4 separate regions of the Homo sapiens genome follow, and regions 1, 3 and 4 are each linked to region 2. The links are contacts of gene promoters, found by promoter capture Hi-C in blood cells and fetal thymus (Javierre and others, 2016). All regions are on one chromosome and are shown on one strand. The core of a region is centred on a gene start or on the middle of the fragment in contact, and the rest is flanking DNA. Distances in the headings are between cores, read along the strand shown.

What was found. The method cuts DNA at HindIII sites, captures the fragments that hold promoters and counts their contacts. A CHiCAGO score of 5 or more calls a contact.
Region 1: a fragment that was not itself captured here is called in contact with the fragment with the promoter of ARPP19 in region 2 in 1 of 17 cell types (M1 macrophages); the score reaches 6.4 in M1 macrophages.
Region 3: a contact is called between a fragment that was not itself captured here and the fragment with the promoter of ARPP19 in region 2, in 1 of 17 cell types (M1 macrophages). The highest score is 6.6, in M1 macrophages.
Region 4: a contact is called between a fragment that was not itself captured here and the fragment with the promoter of ARPP19 in region 2, in 10 of 17 cell types (non-activated CD4 T cells, M1 macrophages, M0 macrophages and 7 more). The highest score is 10.7, in non-activated CD4 T cells.

What each region holds. Positions count from the first base shown.
Region 1 is chr15:52,432,576-52,435,780 of GRCh38, reverse strand. MYO5A (myosin VA) reads left to right here. Exons shown (of 42, transcript NM_001382347.1): 2 at 2,496-2,606. Among named protein-coding and RNA genes, the nearest start is that of MYO5A, 95 kb to the left of the region's middle. The HindIII fragment of the contact is 689 bases long and covers 1,266-1,954 here.
Region 2 is chr15:52,567,229-52,570,468 of GRCh38, reverse strand. ARPP19 (cAMP regulated phosphoprotein 19) reads left to right here and starts at 1,439. Exons shown (of 3, transcript NM_006628.6): 1 at 1,439-1,621. The coding sequence starts at 1,577. RefSeq lists enhancers at 910-1,039, 1,093-1,839, 1,840-2,588 and silencers at 1,510-1,569, 1,640-1,739. The HindIII fragment of the contact is 6,860 bases long and covers 755-3,240 here.
Region 3 is chr15:52,355,231-52,358,022 of GRCh38, reverse strand. The region is part of intron 25 of MYO5A (myosin VA); the gene reads left to right. Among named protein-coding and RNA genes, the nearest start is that of MYO5C, 61 kb to the right of the region's middle. The HindIII fragment of the contact is 892 bases long and covers 837-1,728 here.
Region 4 is chr15:52,332,575-52,335,703 of GRCh38, reverse strand. The region is part of intron 34 of MYO5A (myosin VA); the gene reads left to right. Among named protein-coding and RNA genes, the nearest start is that of MYO5C, 38 kb to the right of the region's middle. The HindIII fragment of the contact is 2,759 bases long and covers 486-3,129 here.

The DNA.
Region 1 (3,205 bases), core at 361-2,860, 130 kb after region 2:
TGTAAGTGCTGCCAATAATTAATGGTTTTATAATCTTACTTGTCAAGACTAAAAGTTAGTTAATAACCTTATATCAGTCCCCAAACTTTAAGTAAAAAATTTTACCAGCCATGAAATCTAGTAGTTTGGAAACTATGGCAATATACCACAGCAGCTTCCCAATAGGAAGGCTTGAAAATATTTGTCAGTAAAGAGGTTAACATAGGCTGGGCATGGTGGCTCATGCCTGTAATCCCAGCACCTTGAGAGGCCAAGGCGGGTGGATCATGAGGTCAGGAGATCGAGACCATCCTGGCTAACACGGTGAAACCCTGTCTCTACTAAAAATAGAAAAAAATTAGCTGGGTGTGGTGGCATGTGCCTATAGTCCCAGCTGCTCGGGAGGCCGAGGCAGGAGAATCACTTGAACCCAGGAGGCGGAGGTTGCAGTGAGCCGAGATCGTGCCACTGCACTCCAGCCTGGGTGACAGAGTGACAGAGTGAGACTCCGTCTCAAAAAAAAAAAAAAAAAAAAAGAGGTTAACGTAATATCCAGGACAGTGGCATGGCATGCTGAAATGTTTTTCTTAATTTAAATTATCTTGAATCTCAGATCTACCTGTACTTTCGTTCACCCACTTTCTTTTCGCTTTCTCCTATCTGTAAGTTCATCACTGGGTCATATAAATTTCTCTTGTACTTGGGAATGACCTTGTTACAAGCTTCCAGAACTTTGTGCCCAGTACTTAGAATAGTCATTACATTATCACAGTTCTTTGGGAAGTTGCCCCATATTTAACATACTCAAATCCAAATGCTCCTTCTCAAAGCTCCAAGTAAATTAGTACCCTGATTATTGTTAAAAATGAAATCTAGAGGTGAATTTACATGAAATGAGGATACAGATACAGGCCAGAGACCGGGTTCAGTCTGGCCCATGCCAGCCATGATTGATTGTGTCATGTCTTTCCCTTGCTGGCTGAATCTAGGATTCCTGTTTTCATATGTGATTTGTTCATGAAAATGGGCATTTAGGTTTAGTGTATGTGTGTTTTAAAGGGAAATTTCTTCCCAGAGAGTCCAAGCACATAAAAACACTTCTTCAATGTGGTATTCGAAAGATTTGTGCATGTTAGTATATTTTGTTCTTTTTCTTCAAAATTGACCACATAATCTTCTGGCTTATGTCCAGGGAGTATCTAGTTGAGGCAAAATATTTGCTGCTTTGGGAATCCCTGATGATTACCATGCCTTTTTCATGATGTTGAGGCTACAGGAGCTAAGCTTATTAGTGACTGGCTGTGCCATTTTTACCATTTCCCACTCATCTTTATAAAATAATGAAGGCAAAATGCTGAACAACCGTGTTTCTTCAGTTTTAAAAAATCTGTTATTTTTATTCTCCTCTTCTCCCTACTGTGATGGCTCCTGAAGGATGTCTGAGAAATCACTAAGGCTTTGCAGAGCACAGGATGCAAACCACCATAAAAAAATCCAAATTGTGGGCCGGGCACGGTGGCTCATGACTGTAATCCCAGCACTTTGGGAGGCTGAGGCAGGTGGGTCACGAGGTCAGGGGTTCGAGACCAGCCTGGCCAACATGGTGAAACCCCGTCTCTACTAAAAATACAAAAATTAGCTGGGCACAGTGGCACATGCCTGTAGTCCCAGCTACTCGTGAGGCTGAGGCAGGAGAATCACTTGAACCCGGGAGGCAGAGGTGGCAGTGAGCCGAAATCGTGCCACTGCACTCCAGCCTGGGCAACAGAGCGAGACTGTATCTCAAAAAAAAAAAAAAAAAAGAAAAAGAAAGAACAAAAAAATCCAAATTGTAAACCCAGCCATAAAAAGATGGCAGTGCTGTTGAAACTGGCAGAACCACAACACCATAGCTTCAAAAATAGATCTTATGTGTACATTTTAACCTAAAATTATACTTTCAGGTGGCATTTACTGTGTAAAGCAAAGTCAAGCTTTGATCATAACTGTTTTTTCAGAGCACACTTTTTATATAATTTGGGAATGGTGGTGCTATGAGAGCTAAAATATTTTTTGTTTACTAATTTAAAAAGTAAATTTCAGCTGGACGTGGTGGCTCACACCTGTAATCCCAGCACTTTGGGAGGCTGAGGCGGGTGGATCACCTGAGGTCAGGAGTTTGGAGACCAGCTTGGCCAATATGGCGAAACTCCATCTTTATTAAAAACAAAAAAATTAGCTGAGTGTGGTGGCAGGCGCCTGTAATTCCAGCTACTCAGGAGGCTGAGGCAGGAGAATTGCTTGAACCCAGGAGGCAGAGGTTGCTGTGAGCTGAGATCATGCCACTGTACTCCAGCCTGGGCAACAAGAGCTTAACTCTGTCTCAAAAAAAAAAAAAAAAAAAAAAAAGTGAATTTCATGTTGGCCAAGATTTCTTTTTTCATAAATTGTTTAATTATAAATAGTTATCATATGTTTATATATGATTGTAAAATAATTGATTTGCTAGTTTAAATTTTTTTCTTTTTGTCTTCTAGTTTGCCAGGGTTTGGATACCTGATCCAGAGGAAGTCTGGAAGTCAGCAGAGCTGCTCAAAGATTATAAGCCAGGAGATAAAGTCCTCCTGCTTCACCTCGAGGAAGGAAAGGTGAGATCTCACTTTCATTTGTTGTCATTGGCATAAAGTGAAGGGAGTTCAAAAGTGTAAATTTACTGTGAAGTAAACTCCCAATGGAAGTTAAATTTTGAACTTACCTAGAATTTTTACTTACTAAATTGGTAAAAATGGCAAACTCAGTTTTCTATCCTGATAGTGTTTTTAATGGCATAGATTAGTGAAAATAGCAGATACTTTAAAAAGCTTCTATTTTGGCCTGTGAATTTATTATGATTATCAGGTTTAGATTCACATCTAATCCTAAAACTCTTGCATTTAACTGGTGTGCTATGGGGAGTGCTTGTAGTGTTTTTAAAAAGAGGCATGGTGCCAGGTCTTAGAGGAGACTCATTGGTGGCAGCATGGAGAGCAAAACTGAGGGGAAGATACTAGTTGGGAGGAAGGCGGGGAAGAATTAGGCCAATTAGGAGGGCTTTTAATACCAAACTAGGGAATTAACTTATTTAACATTTATTGGTCATCTGCTTTGTTAGGCAAAATGTTCGGCACTTTGGAGTGAATTTTCTCACGTTAAATTTCACACCAACCCTATGGGTTGGCAGGTGATATAATCACTATTTTCCAAATAA
Region 2 (3,240 bases), core at 190-2,689:
CTGTGCCCAGCCACAGCCAATTTTCTTGAGGCTGAGTTTCATCATTAAGTGTATGTCTATCAGATTTTAACTCAAGTTCACAAATACATTGATATAGGACATATACTAGAACGTCAGTCAATTTATTAATAAAAATACAACTGTTAAATGCTTCAGTGGCCTAACTACTGCACTCTTCTTTCTCTCTGCAGTTCTGCTTAAGGGAAAGGCAAATTTTCAGTATGTTACTTTGTGAGTATAGAAGGAGAACAAATATGTCGTGGATCTTACAGTTTCTCAGCTAGCCCAGCGTGAGACATTCTTAAGGGATATCTTTGTCAAACAGTTGGCCTGTTGAACCCTTTTATTTTCAATACTTCCTTGGCTGACAAATGCCTTCCTTCGTTTCTCCAAAAGGAGTGCAATATTAACTCTTTTTGTTTTTCTAGTTGCAATTCCAGTGCAATTCTTCCTGTCTGAGATTCTACATCCTGGTTGAGTTTCGATGGTTTCCAAATTCCTTATCCAGGCATTTAGGGTCTTTCAATTGTTCCCCTGCCCCCAGAAATGCATTCATTTTCTGTGGCTTTTTACTAGTTTAACTTTTAGAGGGCAATCTTATTTCCAAGTTTCTGAGGGACACTTTGTTGGAACCAACAAACATTGCGAGTAACTATTCAGATATCAAGTAGAATGAGGATTCAGTAAGAAGCCGCAGGACTTGGCAAATAAAAAGGTCATTGGGGGAGCTCAATGCTAGCAGTTTCGGTAAGCTTGTGGGAGTGGACCCCCTGGGAGTGGACAAATGAATCTGAATTCCTTCGTTAGATATCTAGGAAGTGCTGGACCCTCAGAGTAAAATATAAGTAATTACAGACGAGATCCCTGCCCTGGTGCGGCTTATCTGAGAAGGAAAGGTGACCTAAAGTCACGACAATTGTGTAATGATACAGTTCATGTTGTTGAGGAACTGTACAGGGCTGTGACAGCCTTTAAGAGGTGGCTCTGGCCTAGTGTAGAGGTTTAGGAAGGAAAGGTTCTGAGGCAGAGACGTAGGACTGGAGATGTGAAGGCGTGGCAGAGTGGAGCAAGACTTTTGGCGTGCCCAAAAGACAGCCTGTGTGGCTACAGAGCGGAGAGCGAGGAGAACAGAACTAGGCGAGGATGGGTAAGTGGAAAGAGTAAAATAAAGCTCCTAGAACGAGGGGACCAGAGTGGACAGGAAAGGGCGGGGAGGGGCGGTTCCACTTAGAAACTACAATTCCCAGGAAGCACTCGGCAGCCACAAACGGATGTGAGGTGAGGCAGGAGCGGCGACCTTTGAAGGAAAAAAGGAAGTGTTTGGACGACAGCGAGCGGGAGAAGCGGGGTCAAGTAGGTAGGGGTGCGGTGCGGGAGGGGCAGGCGGGCTCCGGCGTGCGAGGGCCTTGGCCAGCGGAGCGTTTCGCGGCTCCGTGTCGTCATAAGGCGGCGGCCATTTTCGCGGGCGGAGGCGGCCCGGCGGGCCCTGGGAGAGCTGGGACGGGCGGCGGCCGGGTGGCCTCGGCCACCCGCTAATTGCATCTTTTCCCGGCGTCTCGTCTGCAGAGGGAGCACTATGTCTGCGGAAGTCCCCGAGGCAGCCTCCGCGGAGGAGCAGAAGGTGAGCGCGCGGGGCGTGAGCCCTGGGCCCTGCCCAAGGCCGGGTCTGGCGGGCGGCCTGCTCCCGCCAGGCGGAGGGCCGCGCCCGAGATGCGGGGCCGAGGCGCATGAGGCCGAGGCTCCTGCGCCCCACCTTTGGCTTCCCGCCGTCGCTGGCTGGTGCGCCGACGAATTGGGAGTTCCAACGTGCCCCGCGTTTACTCCGAATCGTGCCTTTTGTAACACCTCCGTGGGTCGCGGTGTTCCTCAGTCACTTATATTTACGCGAGAGCCCAGGACGCAGGCTTTGGGCGTAGAGCCTAAGTTTTTCTGTAAGCCTCAATTTGGTTAGGAAGTTTTATTTTTTCCTTTGAAGAACTCTCCAACTACTTGTATTGTGAGCGTGCGGTTCACTCCAAAAGCAGTGCCTCGTGTGCGGGCCGCGATGTGGGCCAGGATTGGCATTTCAGGGCCAACCCTTGTAACCATGGTCAGTGAGTAAAGTCCGGCCTTCAGTGTCTTCACCTGTAAAGGCCGAATACTGGTGCTTGCCTCCCACGGCGGGGTGAGGCCTAGAGGAGGTGAGTCAGGTGTAGTGTGCAGCGCAGTCTGTGCTCAAAAAGGTTTCAGTCGATGGGACTCAAATATGGTACTTGACTAAAAATCGAAAGGGTGGAATTTTAAAATTTTACTCACGAAATTAATCAGGGTTTTATTGGAAACAGGAATATTTTGTAAACGCCCTTGTGTCTTCCTGATGTAGGGGAATAGGCCGGGAGTGTCACTGTGGTTCAAATTATGAATATCAAGCCTTTGTATTTATCTAGGCTGGTGTTTGTCTCTCCCACTGTAATTATTTCCACCGCCCTGCCCTCCTAGGCAGGTGTGACTGGCCGAGAAGTGAGAAAGGGCCGAGGTATCTTGTCTCCTAAATTGTTTATCAACAATTTTTCTTACAAATCAGGTTGTGTTGCCGTTAAATACGATTTTGGTCTACTGCTTGACCTTCGTGCGGGTTTCTGCTTAATGTTGCACTTATGTCCTAATTAAGTTGGGAATTGGATTAGTGTTCTAAGCCCATTCCATATGTTCTTAAAACCGTGTTAACTTTTCTTAAGTTGGGTGCTTCTGTTAGGATGTTAAAGTAATTGAAAAACAAGAAAACATATAGCATAGGTAAAAGTCCAAGTTACCACATTATTTGAGAATATCCCGTGAAAATAGATATATTTACGCATTACCAAAAAAATGGATTTTGGGGGCAAAAATACAAATATTAAAGTTTGCAATCTTAACAGTATTATTAAGTATCACCTGCTTATTGTAAAATGCGTATTGTGTTCATTATTGCTTGAAATTTAGGAGCCCCCAAAAATAACAAGTCCCTGTCTGTGGTGGTTTGCCTTAAACACTTACATCAAACTTAGCATTAACTTCTGGTGCACAGTAGTGTGCTATGTAATTTTCTTTGATAAGTTCTGTTAGTATGTTGCCAAAGTATGCAGTATTGACTTCTAGAGTGTAAATACTTTTACTTGGAAAAGCCTAATGTATCTTTTAACAATATTAAGGATAGCTTGAACGTTTTCTCTTATTGATTGTCTACATTAAACATTTAAGGTGCTTTGGTTTTAGCTGCTG
Region 3 (2,792 bases), core at 33-2,532, 210 kb after region 2:
CTCACACCTTTCACCTCTGGGAAGGGTCACCAGAACTTTCTCAGCTATCATTAGGAGTTATTTCAGAATGACTGCCAGGCCTGTAGTGGTGGTAATTTTGTGAATAAATTCAGTTATTTTGATTTTCCTCAGATGAGAGACTAGTGTTATTTTTTAGGTCAGTTAAAAAGCTTCGCTGTCTTAGAAAAGCCCTGGGTGACAAAGTCCTTACTAAGGCAAAAAGCGAAACAAAACCTCAGAAACTTCTCTGTGACAGATGGCCCAATCTTCCTTCTTGCTCATGGGGTATAGTGAGGACAGCTCTTTAATTTGATAGCATCTCTTTAATTAGATGTGTCATCCGGGCTCAGAATGGGTACCATCGGGAGCACTCTTAAATAATTACCACTCTTTATGCCTCGAGTCATTTTGCATTTTTCAAATGTAATCTTTTGTGATCTTCCACCTTCTATTTTAATATTCTTATCCACAGAATTTTGCTCTTGTCCAGCAATCAACTAGTTGTTTATATAGTATTAGCCAATGTCTAAAGAGTTAACCCATCACATTTTTTCTTTTTTTTTTTTTTTTGCTAGTTCTAGTTATCAAAACACCATCCCATTTTAATAAGAGGATTCCTTTTAAACAAAAAGTGCCCATTCAAGGCTCAAAGGAATGATTTCCAAGTGATATTTTAGGTATAATGAATGAAGTATTATATTCATTTCTAGAATGAAAGGTTCTATGACAGTGTAAGAAAAGATTAAATAATTTAAAATTTCAGGGACATGTACATCATTCATAAATGAACAAACATTAAAATATATAATATGGAATGTTTACATTGTAAATAAGCTTCAATATAAGTATTTTACGCTTAATTTTTATGGGGGACGTATAGAGAAGAATTTTTATATGAATGAAATTCTGTGGTGATTTCGTGTTGAGGCAAGATGTTATATCTGTTCTGCTAAGTCAGGACAGACTTTATTATAAAGATTATATACCTAAAACTTTTTCTAATTGTTAAGTATTACAAAGTAGGCAGAAAGAAAAAGTTCAGGTGTAATTAATTTGTGGACAAATGACTTTGACAGCCTATAAATGCCTACTTTTTTGTTCAGTTGATTCTTCTCAGGTTGTTTTTGAATTGGAATAACACTTAACACTACTCTGAATTCATGAAAGACCAAAGGTAGCTAATTAATATACAATTCCTGAAAATAAAAAAAAAAAAAAAAAAGTCAAAGAAATGCAAATTAAATCAACAGCGAAGTGCCACTTTTGGTCTATTAACTGAGCTAATTTTTTTTTTTTTTTAATTATAACGGTTACTACTGTTGAAGGCAAGGTGATGGTTGCTGATAGAAGTTTAAATTGGCCCAATTTAATGGACTTTTAAGAAGTTAATGTTTAGATATTTATATACTGGGGTGTTTATTTTAGTAATATTCCAATAGCAAAAAATTAGAAACAACTTCAACACCCATCAGTAAAATAATAGCTAAGCAAATGGTGACACACCTGTCTATATATTGAAATATCATATTATAAATTTGGGAAACAATGCAATGCCAAGTTTAAAAGACCATATAAAATTATAATGACATTATTATTCTAATTCTTTAAATCTATAGATGCATAGAGAAAAAGACTAAGAAAAAATTGTAGTTTTTCTGTGGCGATAGGATTATGGCTGTGTTTTTCTTCTTTGAACTTTTCTTATTTCCTAAATTTTCTGTAAAAGCTTATTCTGTTCTCATATCAGAAAAGCAAAAGTAAACATTCTCTTTTTAAACAATTGGGTAGATTTACCAATCATTTAAGAATTATACTTTGACCATTTAGTTAAATAAATGATTGTTGCCATTCTCTTGCTCCTCCAGCCCCACTTGTCTCTCTCTAACAAAGGGACTCTTTATCTTCCACATTAATTCTAATAGTACAATTATTTCTCTTCTTACCTCATTAAAAATTAAAACCTTAGGTAAACATGTTAAAACAATTATGGCATCCACAACTTCCATTATGATGGTTAGTTGTTTCCATTCTTTTTAGCTTTAATTAGTGTACCTTTATTTATCCTAGTAGGTCTCATTGTGATTCTGTTTTGGAACCAGTTGACACATTTTTAAAATGTTATTAGGTTATCCTTCAGTTTATTAAGAACTATACAGTCGTCCCTCGGTTTCCACAGGGGATTGGTTCCAGGACTTTCATGAATACCAAAATCTAAGGATGCTCAAGTCTCTTATATAAAATGCAGTAGTATTTACATATAACCTATGCACATCCTTCCATATTCTTTAAATCATCTCTACATTACTTATAATACCTAAGACAAGCTATGTAAATATAGCATTATTTAATACCTAAGACAATATATAATTAAATAAAACATTATTTAGTACCTAAGACAAATATAGAATATTGTAATACCCAAGACAATATAAATGCTATGTAAACAATACAGTATAATAACTATTTATTTGTAATAAAAAGCCAAGTTGCGCAGCACAGGTCTATCTGCAGAGCCAAGGCTGGGCTTTATGTCTATTTCAGCAGTCTCTTCTTAGTGGGGACACAGCCAAGCCTAACCAAGCAGCGTTTTGTTAAAGTAGTGAGGGCTAAACTCTCTTCACTGTTTTCTGAAGAGGCAGTAAATATTCTAACAGTAAAAATGTGATAATCATTTTCATTTTTATTGTTTGGGAGTTTTTTTGGGGGGGAATATTTTTGATCCACAGTTGGTTGAATCTGAGAGGATGTGGAACCCACAGATACAGAACCCAAGGATATGGAGGGCTGACTGT
Region 4 (3,129 bases), core at 616-3,115, 240 kb after region 2:
GATGATGATGAAAAAATTCCTTGAGAAATAACCAAATATCAGTTGTTGTTATTATTTATATACAAATGGATCTTATCTTTTCTATTAGTGTGTTTATGTGTTTATTTGTTAAGAGTTATAGGTACAGGGATCTAGCAGTGAACAAGGCTAAAGCCAAACTCCTTTTTTTTTTTTTTTTTTTTTTTTTGGAGACAGAGTCTTGCTCTGTCGCTGAGGCTGGAGTGCAGTGGTGCAATCTCGGCTCACTGCAACCTCTGCTTCCCGGGTTCAAGCAATTCTCCTGCCTCAGCCTCCTGAGTAGCTGGGATTACAGGTGCATGCCACCATGTCCAGCTAATTTTTGTATTTTTAGTAGAGACGGGGTTTCACCATGTTGGCCAGGCTGATCTCGAACTCCTGAGCTCGTGATCCATCTGCCTCAGCCTCCCAAAGTGCTGGGTATAGGCGTGAGCCACCGCTTCCAGCCTAAAGCCAAATTTTAAGCTTATTTCAATGTTCTCACTGCTTAAGGGATTTTGAGACAGTCTTTGGAATAGCCTTCAAACCTGTGTGAACGGTTAATCATTTTCTCTCATTGTCATTCTGCATCTAATTCTTGCTTGGTTCAAACAGTGAAGATTCCCCATCACTGAGGATGTTCAAAAGAATCTATCATGATTAACTCCAAGTGTGGTTTTCATTCCTCCAACATGCCAGGTCTTGTCATAACTGCTCCTTCTGTTTGGTCATCCTGCTTCTCCTGGTTAAGTCCTGCTCAGCCTTTGAGACCAGAGTCATATGTCACATCCTCAAGAGTAGCCTTTCCTGATTACCCAGACAGACGTTATGGTTCTGCTCTCTGTGTACCACAATTTGGCCGACATCTTTTATGGTCTTCACTATGTCATATTTTTAGCAATTTTTCTGTTTGAATTACTGGCTTCCATAATAGACTCTGAGCTTCCTGAGCATAGAAAACATCTCTGTTTCCCTTTGCTTTCACAGCACCTAGCATAGTGTCTGACCTATCTCATAATCATTCCATAAATGTTTGTTGAGTGAATGAGTAAGTTTCAGAAATATTTATAACATGGCAACATGGACATTTACTTTGTAAAGGATATTACTCTGTTGGATGTACAAATACTGAAATATTTGTTTAGAAATCAGAAAGATTATTTTATAGTCACACTTTATATATAATCCTTTAGCATTACATGAGTCATATATTACATTAAAATTTGAGCCTCCACATCACACACTCACACACACATGAGCTATAATGTCTATTAGCAGAACTTAAAAATCTTTATTCAGAGAACTTTTTGCACTTTGCACCAATTATATCATGAGATGATAATCAGACAGCAGAGTATTTGTTTGAAAAAAACAGATTTTAAGTGTATTAACATGTGAGATTCTTTTTTTGTTCAACTCCTAATGATTCCTTTGCCATACTTTAGTAAATTTTGATAAACAGAAAAGCCATTCATTATTTTACATAATTTTTATTAGTTTTCTTTGATATGTATATTTTTTAGTTGAAGAGATGGGTTAGACTATTTTAAGATATTACTAATCTTAAGCCATTGTCAATCAGAAATCAACCTCATCATTTAAACTATCCAGACAGCTGTAAAGCCATAAGTAGCATTTGAGAATAGCAATTCATAGATCAAACAAAAAAGGCATTATAATAGTTCTTAAGAAGAGTTACATTTTGAGTTAAGTGATACATATCTAGAGGATGAAATGAAATAGATTTATGTGACTTGGGCACTTGCTGAGTGCAGTGTACCTGCTTCTACCCCAAATAAAGAGAATCAAGGTGACACTTTTCATCCTCGTATCTGCCTGTTACACAGAAAATACAGGCACCTTCTAATAACTAAACGTTGTCTTATACTTTTCTTTAAATGTATTGCAACACACTTAAATCCTTTTGGTTTAAAATAGCACAACTCTTGCCTCCTCCTACAAGCTACATTTAATTAAGGAGGCTTTTTAAAAAGCCAACAGACTTTTAAAAAAAATGCTAGCATATATAATTTTTGGCAGAAACTATATAGCTAAATGGAGAGTGTTTCAAAATTTGATCTGCTTTGTGCTATATTTTCACCCATCTTAATTTTCATGGAATCAAGAAATTAAGACCTGAAAGGATTCTAGAAATCAATTAGTTATTTCATAAGAGGAAAAAACTAAGGCCTGTAAGTGACCCATGGTTGCAGCAGGTGAGATGGCAGGACTAGAACACATACCTTCTAAGGGCCACTGATTTCTCTCCTTTGTGTCAAATTTTCCCACAGAAATCTTCTACTTATTAGGAATTCATCTGATTGTCTCAAACTTGAGATCAAGATCTTCCTGGTGCCAAAAGTAAATTTTTTTAAAACTTTCCAATTTTCTTTCCTTTTTGAAGACAGAAAGGTTCCCTCAAGTTTATAAAGAATCTAGAAAATGAAACTAGAGTCTTTTTTCAGGTCTTCCTAGAAGAATGGATCATTGGGCTCCTCAGTCCCTTTGTGCTGCTATAACAAAGTACTTGAGACTGGGTGATTTATAAAGAACAGAAATTTATTTCTCACAGTTCTGAAGGGTCAAGACACTGGCAAGTTCAGAGGGTCTGGTTTCTGCTTCCGAGATGGCAGGTGCCTTGTTGCTGGATCCTCTGAAGGGGACGAACTCTGTGTTCTTACATGGCAGAAGGTGGAAGGGCAAAAGGCTTAGCTAGTTGCCTCTTTATTTATTTATTTATTGAGATGGAGTTTGGCTTTCATCACTCAGGCTGCAGTGCAGTGGCGTGATCTCGGCTCACTGCAACCTCTGCCTCCCAGGTTCAAGCGATTCTCCTGCCTCAGCCTCCCAAGTAGCTGGGATTACAGGCATGTACCACCATGCCCGGCTAATTTTTTGTATTTTTAGTAGAGATGGGGTTTCTCCATGTTGGTCAGGGTGGTCTTGAACTCCTGAACTCAGGTGATCTGCCTGCCTTGGCCTCCCAAAGTGCTCTGATTATAGGTGTGAGTCACTGTGCCCGGCCAACATTTTATTTTAATTAGTAGATAATATTGCAAAATCAATCAAGGTTATGTTGAACTGACATCTAAATTTCATTTGTGAGCTTTGCAAAGACTTAAGTCCCTAGGG